Regions from separate parts of the Homo sapiens genome. Here all the other regions are linked to region 3. Evidence: promoter capture Hi-C in human tissues and cell types (Jung and others, 2019). All regions are on one chromosome and are shown on one strand. Each heading gives the region's core, a stretch centred on a gene start or on the middle of the fragment in contact. The rest is flanking DNA. Distances are from core to core; before and after follow the strand shown. Region 1 overlaps STX8 (syntaxin 8). Region 2 holds the start of AURKB (aurora kinase B). Region 3 holds the start of SPDYE4 (speedy/RINGO cell cycle regulator family member E4).

Region 1 (3,225 bases), core at 421-2,920, 780 kb before region 3:
TTTATTTTTTGAGATGGAGTCTTGCTCTGTCGCCCAGGCTGGAGTGCAGTGGCGCAATCTTGGCTCACTGCAAGCTCCGCCTCCCAGGTTCACACCACTCTCCTGCCTCAGCCTCCCGAGTAGCTGGGACTACAGGCGCCCGCCACCATGCCCGGCTAATTTTTTGTATTTTTAGTAGAGACAGGGTTTCACCATGTTAGCTAGGATGGTCTCGATTTCCTGACCTCGTGATCTGCCTGCCTCGGCCTCCCAAAGTGCTGGGATTACAGGCGTGAGCCACAGCTCCCGGCCCTTGTTTTTTTGTTGTTGTTTTTGTTTGTTTTGTTTTTGAGACGGAGTTTTGCTGTGTCACCCAGGCTTGAGTGCAGTGGCACAATTTCAGCTCGCTGCAACCTCCGCCTCCCGAGTTCAAGTGATTCTCCTGCCTCAGCCTCCCGAGTAGCTGGGATCACAGGCACGCACTACCACGCCTGGCTAATTTTGTATGTTTGGTAGAGATGAGGTTTTACCATGTTGGCCAGGCTGGTCTTGAACTCCTGACCTCAGGTGATCTGCCTGCCTCAGCCTCCCAAAACGCTGGGATTACAGCCATGAGCCACTACACCTGGCCTGTGTCATTTATTCTTAATCGTGGCACTTTGCATCAGAATCACCCAAGAGAGAATGGAAAAAAAAAAAAAAATACAAATGTTTAGACCATGTACTTGCAGAGTCTGATTCATAGTCTTGGGTGAGGCCTGGGCAGCAGTAAGGCTGGGGAGACTACCGGGTGGTTTTAGTAGGTGGCAGGGTTAGAACGACTGCTCTATGTCACAGTGTACTAGTCATGAGACCTATAGCTTATGTCTGCTATTTGTTTTTTATATGGTAGGCACTGTGCTAAGCTCTTTATGTGCATTTGCTCAGGAGCTCTTTATAATGCCCCATTTTGCAGAAGAGAAACAGGCTCAGAGGGTTCAAGATTCTAAAGCTAATCAGTCATAGAACTTGGATTTTAGCTCTGAACTTGTAACCATTGCACCATAAAAAGAGCTGGATGAGGTGTTAGAAGGACCCAGTTCTGTAGCTTTCTAGTCTGTCAGTCATGTGGGCTTTGAAGTCATTGACCTTAGACTGGGGATACATGTGCTGCCCATTTTTCGTTGTTGTTAGGACCAGATGAAGTGATTGCTATGAGACAGGCTTTGTAAACTCTAAGACCTTTATAAATACAAGATGTTATTACTGGAGCATTGTGTCTCCATCCGGCTAGGAGGGAACTCAGGCTGCCTCATTGCTTCGGAGATCTTCTGTCCCTCGTGCCCTGCCCCCTGATTGCTCTAGAAGGACGTGGTCTGTCTGACCCCATCATACGCTGCACCTGGTCCTCTGCCCTCCATTCTCCTCTTCCACATCTCATTTGTTCCGTGTCTGCTTCCCTCCGTGCCCAGCTTGCTGCCTATTGTCTTATTAGTGAACAATCTCATGTTAATTCTAGCAGTGGAATCAACGGCTGCCAATGTCTTGTCTTCTGGAGGTATTTTCACCGAAACCTCCTTAAACCCTAGGATTGAAACCACAGTGAATTAGTTGATGGGAATGTTTAGGGAATTTGGCAGGTTAGTGTCAGGTGGTTTTTTTGGATGGAGGCCTTCTGAGGACCTCTTGGGTCCTGCCACTGGGACTGCCTTCTGCTCTTCATGCCCATAAGGCTGATCCATGTGGTGGACTAAAGCTGTTGCTTGTTGGTGTGTTGGTGAATGGCTGAGTGGCATGGGGACAGAGATCATACTGGGGAGACACTGTCAAGCAAAGGTAACTGAATCCCTGAGGGTTGAAATAAAGTTACTGGCCAGACTTATTTACATGCTCTCAAGATGAAACCAAGGGCAACATAGAGATTGGTGTATCTTTTCTGTTCAGGACCAGAAGTCTAGGATGGTTCAGAATAAGGTTCTAGAAGAATTCTGTTTAAAAATAATGTAAGTACTGTCAAGGAGAAATGACTCCTGTGGAGTGATTTGGAGAAGGTAGACGTGGACATAACACACAATGATGGTCCGTTCTGGATGACATGGAGTCTGGCCAAGAGCGGGAAACCAATGTGGCGACTGGACATTGAGCACCATGAAGAAAGAAAATCATTGCAGATACAGAGAGGAAGGAGAATGATGTCGGTGGCCTGGAAGGTGAATTTCTCATTCACTTCCATTGGTGATTCCTTGTTGGGCTAGGATTGCTTTAGACCCAACACCGTAACGGGAACATGTCCGCATATGCTTGTCCAAAAAGTGCAAGTCCTGTAGACATTCCAGAGAAGTCTGATCAATAAGAAAATTCATACTAGACAAAAGCACTCTCATAAGCTATGTAGAAAAGTCCCCGGGAAATCTGCTCAAGGGCCATGAGAACAAATACCCAGCTAGCTAGCGTTGCTCCAACTAGTCAGGGAAGATGGCACCATGTGGACCTATCGAGGACCAGCAAGAAGTGTATGGAGGAGTGAATGCTAAAGCTGAAGTGGACTGCTGGAAGTGGATTTTCTTAGATTTGAGGTCAGAGTTGCTGTTGTTTGATTTCCTTCACCTGCCTATGTAAGAGTATTATTTTTGCCTTCTTTACTCCTAATCCCCATCCTTGAGACCTCCCCTTCTTTCCCCAACTTCTCATACCTAATAGTTCTCTTGTTGGACCTAGCCTTCCAAGGACTTTAATTCAGTTGTAAACATGACTTGTTCATTATATGACATGTTCAATTACAATTCGATTGTATCCCCTTCCCTCCTGATTGTCAGTTGCCTAGTCATTTCTAATACCAACTCTTAGGGAACGCTCAGCTCTATCTATCTTTGGAGAAACTCATTCCTTTCTCTGCCAGTTGGTTTCTGTAGTATCTCCAATGACTTGCAGAGATTTCCTTAGTCCTCTCTACAGTTAATTCCTAGTTCTAGGCTCCTCCAACATTTTCGTTTGCTTCTCTAATCTCTGGATTCCTCCAGCATTTTTCTTTGCTTCTGTAGTTCTTGGTTTTGGGGTGGGGGGGGTCAGTTGGGTTGCTTTGTCACTTTGTGAGTGGAGGGTAGGTGTCTTTCCCTTAATTCATGACTTCCAGAAGCATGGTGGCCAGAAAGCCTTGTCAGAACTTTGAAATGTTATAGACGTGCTCACTATGGCACATTTTGTCAGGAATGCTAGACCATGACCACAACACATTTACTGTTAGAGAACTGGGGTTAATCTGCTAAT
Region 2 (3,469 bases), core at 739-3,238, 550 kb after region 3:
AACAGCAAATAGCATTTAGAATGCATTCAGAAAGGATATTAGCTGAATAATAATCTTCTCTATTGTTCATGTAAGAAAAGTGCTAACGTAGGCATGTAGAGGCTCAACAATGTCATCAAGTCCTGAAGTTCTTTCCAGGCCTCTCTTCTGCCTTCTGCAATGTTAGGCTTCAATGTCAAGCTGCTTCCTTCAGTAGCACTAGAAGCAGCAATGAGGGCTGCATGCTTCCCTGCTCACTTCCAGAAATCTCTTCCTCCATACCTTGCCCTATACATCTTTTCATCTATATCATTTGTAATACACTTTATGATAAACCAGTAAACGTTAAGTGTTTCCTTGAGCTGCCCAGCATTCTGAGCAAGAAACTGATTCCCACTAGCTGGCCCACTTAAATCACAGGCTTATGCCTGATCCAATAACCATAATCTGGAATAAAAGGTATTGATTAGTATAAGTTAATTGGGGCTCATTTCTGGACCTGCAATGAAGTCAGTTTCCTTCTCAAATCCTCAAAACTCTAAGTGCTTTCAGAAGTGGGAATAAAGCTGGGCGCAGTGGCTCACGCCTGTAATCCAAGCACTTTGGGAGACCAAGGCGGGCGGATCACCTGAGGCCAGCCTGAGCAATGTGATGAAACCCCGTCTCTACTAAAAATACAAAAATTAGCCGGGCGTGGTCACATGCACCTATAATCCTAGGTACTCGGGAGGCTGAGACAGGAGAATCAGTTGCACCCTGGAGGAGGAGGTTGTGGTGAGCTGAGATTGTGCCATTGCACTCCAGCCTGGGCAACACAGCGAATCTTCATCTCAAAAAAAAAAAAAAAAGTGAGATTTAAATAGGTCTTCATCAACCTAGGGATTTGGGGTTGTCAGCAACAGAAACTACTACAGAAACCGACTGCATAGACTGGAGAGACAGGTGGTCCCCTAAAGGAAAAATAGAGTGTTAGAAGAAAGGAGAAGAGTGCTGGACAGTACATACTTAATAAATATCCACTGGTTATTTCATAGAAGGCCCAAAAATGTATTTATTTAACCCAGTAATGAAATCTGAGGGTTAGGAAGAGCAGAAAAGAAGGAAGTGTGGCAGGAAGGAGGAAAAATGAAAGTGGGCCCAAACAACACGGCAGCTAACAGAGATCTTGCAACGAAAGGTCTATTGGTGGAAAAACTCCTCCCAGGAATGTCAGAACTTTTAAGAACGACATAGTAATGACACAAGAATAAACACACAGGCAAATGAGCAAACAACGGAATACAAAGTCTAGAAATAGACACAAGTAAATATGCTAACATTATATATCAAGGGCAGCATTTAAATTCTGTTGGGGCAGTTTGTTTAACAAATGGTGTTGACATAACTGGCGCTCCATCGGGCAGAGAAGTTAGACCCCAGCTCATACATGCATAAGGATAAACTCCAGTTACATTAAAGATTTAATTTTTTTTATAAAAAGAAGAAGGCCGGGCACGGTGGCTCACGCCTGTAATCCCAGCATTTTGGGAAGCCGAGGCGGGTGGATCACCTGAGGACAGGAGTTCGAGACCAGATTGGCCAACACAGCGAAAACCCGTCTCTAATAAAAATACAAAAATTAGCCAGGCGTGGTGGCGGGCGCTTGTAATCCCAGCTACTCGGGTGGCTGAGGCACGAGAATCGCTTGAACCCGGGAGGCAGAGGTTGCAGCAAGCCCAGATAGCACCATTATACTCCAGCCTGAGCGACAGAGAGAGACCTGTCTCAAAAAAGGAAAAAAAAAAAGAAAAGAAAAAGCAAGATAATTCACTGGGGGAATTTGGGGAAACTTTCCTAAACTGGAAGCCAAGCGTGAGCCCTTCTCATTCCGCCTCTTCCATTGGGTTCCCATGACTTACGTCACAGGACATCGAGCCAATGGGAACTAGGCATGGGCGACGAGCTTGCCCAATGGGGCCGGGGCGGGAGATTTGAAAAGTCCTTGGCCAGGGCGCGGCGTGGCAGATTCAGTTGTTTGCGGGCGGCCGGGAGAGTAGCAGTGCCTTGGACCCCAGGTGAGCTGGCCTCCTGTCGCAGGCCTTGCGCCGGGAGTGGGCAGATGATCAGGTAGATCAGAGGGTCCGTTGGGCTGGCCTGCGCGCACGCCGCAGGGCTGGAAGGAGGTAGGGACGATAGCAGGGCGGGGGCGGTGAGACCAGCGCCCAGATTGGGGCTAGTGTGCTGACCTGCTCCCTTTTACCAGCTCGGGCTAGCGCTTCCGGCTCGATCGGTCCAACCCCTCCCTCTCTCTCTCTTTTTCTCTGCTTCTCACGGCTGTTTCCCTTCTCCGCCCAGCTCTCCTCCCCCTTTCTCTCTAAGGATGGCCCAGAAGGAGAACTCCTACCCCTGGCCCTACGGCCGACAGACGGTAAGGCCCTTCCCTCCGTCCCTGCGCCCCCATGACCCCGCATGGCGAGTTCCTGCTGGGAAACTTGAGATCCTGCAATGAGCAATCCTTTAAGCACTTTCTTCCCCGTTATGCTCCAAAGTACGGGTCCCAAGTTTGACGACAGAACCCGCTCTGGTCATTTGTAGCCACATCCTGTCAGGTGCTGCCAACGTGAATCTGACCAGCCAGTGACTCCCAGCTGGTGAGGACCTCTGCAGGGCTCGTCACATACAAATGATATCTGGGACTGAGCAGGCAGGGCCTGGCCTTCAGGCCATGATTCCCAATCCATATCCTGAAAAAAAAAAAACTAGACAGCAAATAGAAATAGACTCTAAAAGGATATAAAGTTACAGTTTAAAAGGCCCAGGGCAAGTCTAAATTACAATTTGGAATTAATGACTAAATTGAGGTAAGAATCTAAATGGATCTAAATTGACTTATTTCCCAATGGTCCAGACAGATTTCATTGAAGGGCCTCCTCTCTGATTTGAAATGCCACCTTTATTATATATATAAATTCCCACATATATGTGGGTCTATTTCTGGACTGTATTTTATTCAACTTGCTTATTTGTAGATTGGTACCAATATCACTATTTGGGGCCTAGGGGCTTTCTTCTCTTGGCTGCAGAAGAAGGAAGGGGCCCTGCACAGGCTTTGCTCCCTGTTTTTGGAGCTCTTGCTTCCTGGAGAGTCTGTCTGTTCCCTTGTACATCAGCTCCCTCCCTCATGGAGCACTGAGTGAGGCTGTCAGGAATGGAGTCTGAATGAGAAACCATTGTCACTTTTACCTTAGTCACTCCTAAAAGAAAATGTACCTATTATTTTGAGAGTTGAAAGTGAGGCCAGGTAGGTGGCTCACGCCTGTAATCCCAGCACTGGGAGGCTGAGGCAGGTGGATCACCTGAGGTCAGGAGTTCGAGACCAGCCTGGCCAACATGGTAAAACCCCGTCTCTACTAAAAATACAAAAATTAGCCAGGCATGTGCCTGTAATCCCACCTACTCAGGAGGCCGAGGCAGGAGAATTGCCTGAACCTGGGAGGTGGAGGTTGCAGTG
Region 3 (3,442 bases), core at 139-2,638:
CTAATGTTTGAAAGCCTATTAAATAGGAGAGAAAGATGATTTTCTGTTTTGTTGTAAAAGGATCCAACCAGTTCTGATGGTTGAAAGCATCGTGAATGCGAAGGTCCACTCAATGTAAGCAGAGTTTCCTAACAATTGGACTTCCACAGCGACGGGATCTGCCTCCTCATTCAGTTGTGCCTTTCCCATCAGCGAGAGACTCCTAGGAGCCCATTAGGAAGCTGTGCCAGAACTCACAGGTTCTTTGGATGGTATCTGAGATAGTATCCAGCTCTTACATTTTTATTTTTTCCGAAAAAAATATTTTTGAGACTGAGTCTCACTCTGTCCTCCAGGCTGGTGTGCAGTGGTGCAATCATAGCTCACTGCAGCCTCAAACACTTGGGCTGAAGCAATCCTCCTGCCTCAGCCTCCCAAGTACTGGGACCACAGGTGTGTGCCACGATTCCTGATTACTTTGTTTATATTTTGTAGAGATGACGTTTTGCTATGTTGCCCAGACTAATCTTGAACTCCTAACCTCAAGTGACGCCCTGCCTTGGCCTCCCAAAGGAGGGAGATTATGAGCAGGAGCCCCTGGGCCTGGCTGAGATTTTCCCCTTAGTCTTTTTATACACAGGATATTTTATTCATAAAATACATAAATAGTAGGCAAATTTTGGGGTCAAGTGAAATAGATATGTTGTAATAGTTGATATATAGACCAGAGTTCCTTAGCTGAACTGGAGGGCAGGCTTTAGGTGATCCATGGATGCCCTGAACTTGTGGACACCATTGAAAATCTGTACGAAACCATGGACAGTCTCCTGTGATTTTCATTCCTCAAAATGTCTCTTGGACTCAAAGATGCCTGAGAGCAAAGGATGCATGTTCCCCTACTATAGGATCCAGGATAGTGAATATCAGTAAACATTCAGCAAAAAAGCTTTGCCACATTGAGTACTTCGACGTAACGTCTCCATTCAACAAGTCAATTTACCCAGGATCTCCTGTATATGTTAATCTCACTCTTGGAAGGACTCATCATTCTGCTTACCCTAAATTTCCTTCCACCTTCCTCCCTCTCTCACCAGACTAGACTCTGAAATGGGAAGGAGAAGCGGGGAGGAGAGCCCAACACCCCCTCAAGTTTAGAGTGGAGAGGACACAGCCTCTGCTGGGACAGGGAAAAGAGGAATGTGGAGACCCTGAGGATGCTTTTGGACAATGCTCAGAGGTTGGGACATTGCCAGGAGATACCGTTCACCCCGGATCTCCAAGAAAAGAGATCAGTCTGGCAGTTACATGTGTTTTTCTTCAAAGTAGTTGCCAGTTTGGAATGACCGATGACATCAGAGATTCCGACTTTCCTGATTGGAAGGACCGGACTCTGGTTGCTTGGGAGTTCAGGTGGACAACAGCAACTTCTCAGAACTACTCTTCACTCCTAACTTCTCCCGAGCCTCTAGAAGAGAAACGCACTCTTCTGGGTCCTAACGGAGTCTGGAAGAAGGCTTTGGACAGAACAGGGACTAGGTTTTGTGGACAGAAACAAAGTGTTTGGGAGAGATTATGGCCAGTGGTCAAGCGCGCCCCCCGTTTGAGGAGGAGAGCCCCCAGCCTAGCACAACGGTACGGTCCCCCGAGGTGGTGGTGGATGATGAAGTGCCAGGACCATCAGGTGAGGTGACTGGAGGGAGAAGCGATGGGAGATGATTGACTGAGGAGAGGGAAGGGGGCCAGTTACTGGGAATCTGAAGCACCTGAGTAGGGTGTGTGGGAAAGAAACGACGGACTCAGGAAGCCAGGGATCGGGGAAGGAGGGTGCAGGGAATGGGGCCAAGCATGGCCACGTGTAAAGAAAGTCTGGGGAGCAATGAAGGGGGTCAGGAGATGTGCTCAAAAGATGAGAGAGGAAGGCCGAGGCGGACGGATCACGAGGTCAGAAGATCGAGACCATCCTGGTTAACACGATGAAACCCTGTCTCTACCAAAAATACAAAAGTGAGTTGGGCATGGTGGTGCGTGCCTGTAGTCCCAGCTACTCAAGAGGCTGAGGCAGGAGAATCATTTGAACCCAGGAGGCGGAGGTTGCAGTGAACCAAGATTGTGCCACTGCACTCCGGTCTGGGCAACAAGAGGGAGACTCCATCTCAAAAAAAAAAAAAAGAGAGAGAGAGAGAGAGAGCAGACAGAGCTCAAGGGAAGGTTTCCATTTTTCTCCAATTGAAAGTTCTTATCTGTGATGAGGAAATGTTTTGAGGACAGAGAGCCGGAAGAATGGGGAGGTGAGGGAGAGGCAGATGGGGATCAGCAAAGGAGAAAGGTGGAAACATGGCTTGGAGAAGCTGACAGTCTGCGAGGCTTGGGAGGATGGAAGAGTAGTTTGAGGTTCCTGGGTCGGGGCGTCTAAGGTGATCAATGGCAGAAACATGACACCATGGCCTGGTTTCTTCACTCAGCCCCTTGGATAGATCCCAGCCCCCAGCCTCAATCCCTTGGCCTGAAAAGGAAGAGCGAATGGTCAGACGAATCCGAGGAGGAGCTGGAGGAGGAGCTGGAGTTGGAGCGCGCCCCTGAGCCCGAGGACACCTGGGTGGTGGAGACGCTGTGTGGGCTCAAGATGAAGCTGAAGCGAAAGCGAGCATCCTCCGTGCTCCCTGAGCACCACGAGGCCTTCAACAGGCTCCTTGGTAGGAGGATACCCCAAAAAGCACCTCCAACCCTGTTCTTTTAAAAAAGTGGAATCTTTCAATAATCACACTTTCCCAATAAGAAGAATATGCCCTCCTGGGGGATGAGCGCTCCATGCAGGAGGAGGATGCTTAGGAGATAGAGGATTAGGCTAGTCTTAATAAAGGTCTGCACTTGAAATAAGAAAGCTTGGTTTCTGGCCAGGTGCAGTGGCTCATGCCTGAGATCTTGGTGCTTTGGGAGGCTGAGGCGGGAGGATCTCTTGAACTCAGGAGTTTGAAGTTGCAATGAGCTATGATTGCACCACTGCACTCCAGCCTGGTTGACAAGGAAAGACCCTGTCATAAAATAAATAAAATAAAATAAAATAAAAGATAAAAGAAAGCTTGGTTTCAGCTGTACCCTCTGAAACTCTATGTCTCTTGATGACTTTTCTAAACCTAAGTGTCTCCATCCGTGGAGGGGGATAACAAGGCCATGGGCACACCCAGCTGTGACTATCTCAGGAAGCAATGATGGGAATTCTATTATGACTTCTGCAGTGGTCCCTTCCTGTCTGATGGGAGGACATCATGGCTTATTCACAGCTCTTCATCCTGTAGACTCTGACACCAGAGGCCTCCTTCGGCCTCTCCTCAGGGGAATCTCAGAGCGGGAGCCTCCCTCCTTGCCCAGTGAAAGTCCTTCTCTCCTCTCCCATCCACCTAAGCCTTGGCCACAATCCTGAGACTTCCCCCAGAGGGACACAGTTCTCCTCTCTGCTCTGCTG

What was found. Contacts are between HindIII fragments. The study calls those that stand out against the background at their distance.
Region 1: a contact is called between a fragment that was not itself captured here and the fragment with the promoter of SPDYE4 in region 3, in 1 of the 25 tissues and cell types used here (lymphoblastoid cells).
Region 2: a contact is called between the fragment with the promoter of AURKB here and the fragment with the promoter of SPDYE4 in region 3, in 1 of the 25 tissues and cell types used here (neural progenitor cells).

Annotation. Positions count from the first base shown.
Region 1 is chr17:9,539,462-9,542,686 of GRCh38, reverse strand. The region is part of intron 4 of STX8 (syntaxin 8); the gene reads left to right. Among named protein-coding and RNA genes, the nearest start is that of STX8, 35 kb to the left of the region's middle. The HindIII fragment of the contact is 5,742 bases long and covers 1-3,225 here.
Region 2 is chr17:8,209,094-8,212,562 of GRCh38, reverse strand. AURKB (aurora kinase B) reads left to right here and starts at 1,988. Exons shown (of 9, transcript NM_004217.4): 1 at 1,988-2,033; 2 at 2,314-2,386. The coding sequence starts at 2,339. RefSeq lists enhancers at 2,486-2,535, 2,097-2,756. The HindIII fragment of the contact is 18,109 bases long and covers 1-3,469 here.
Region 3 is chr17:8,756,492-8,759,933 of GRCh38, reverse strand. It overlaps SPDYE4 (speedy/RINGO cell cycle regulator family member E4), which reads left to right and starts at 1,388. Exons shown (of 7, transcript NM_001394956.1): 1 at 1,388-1,660; 2 at 2,442-2,672. The coding sequence starts at 1,552. The HindIII fragment of the contact is 5,925 bases long and covers 1-3,442 here.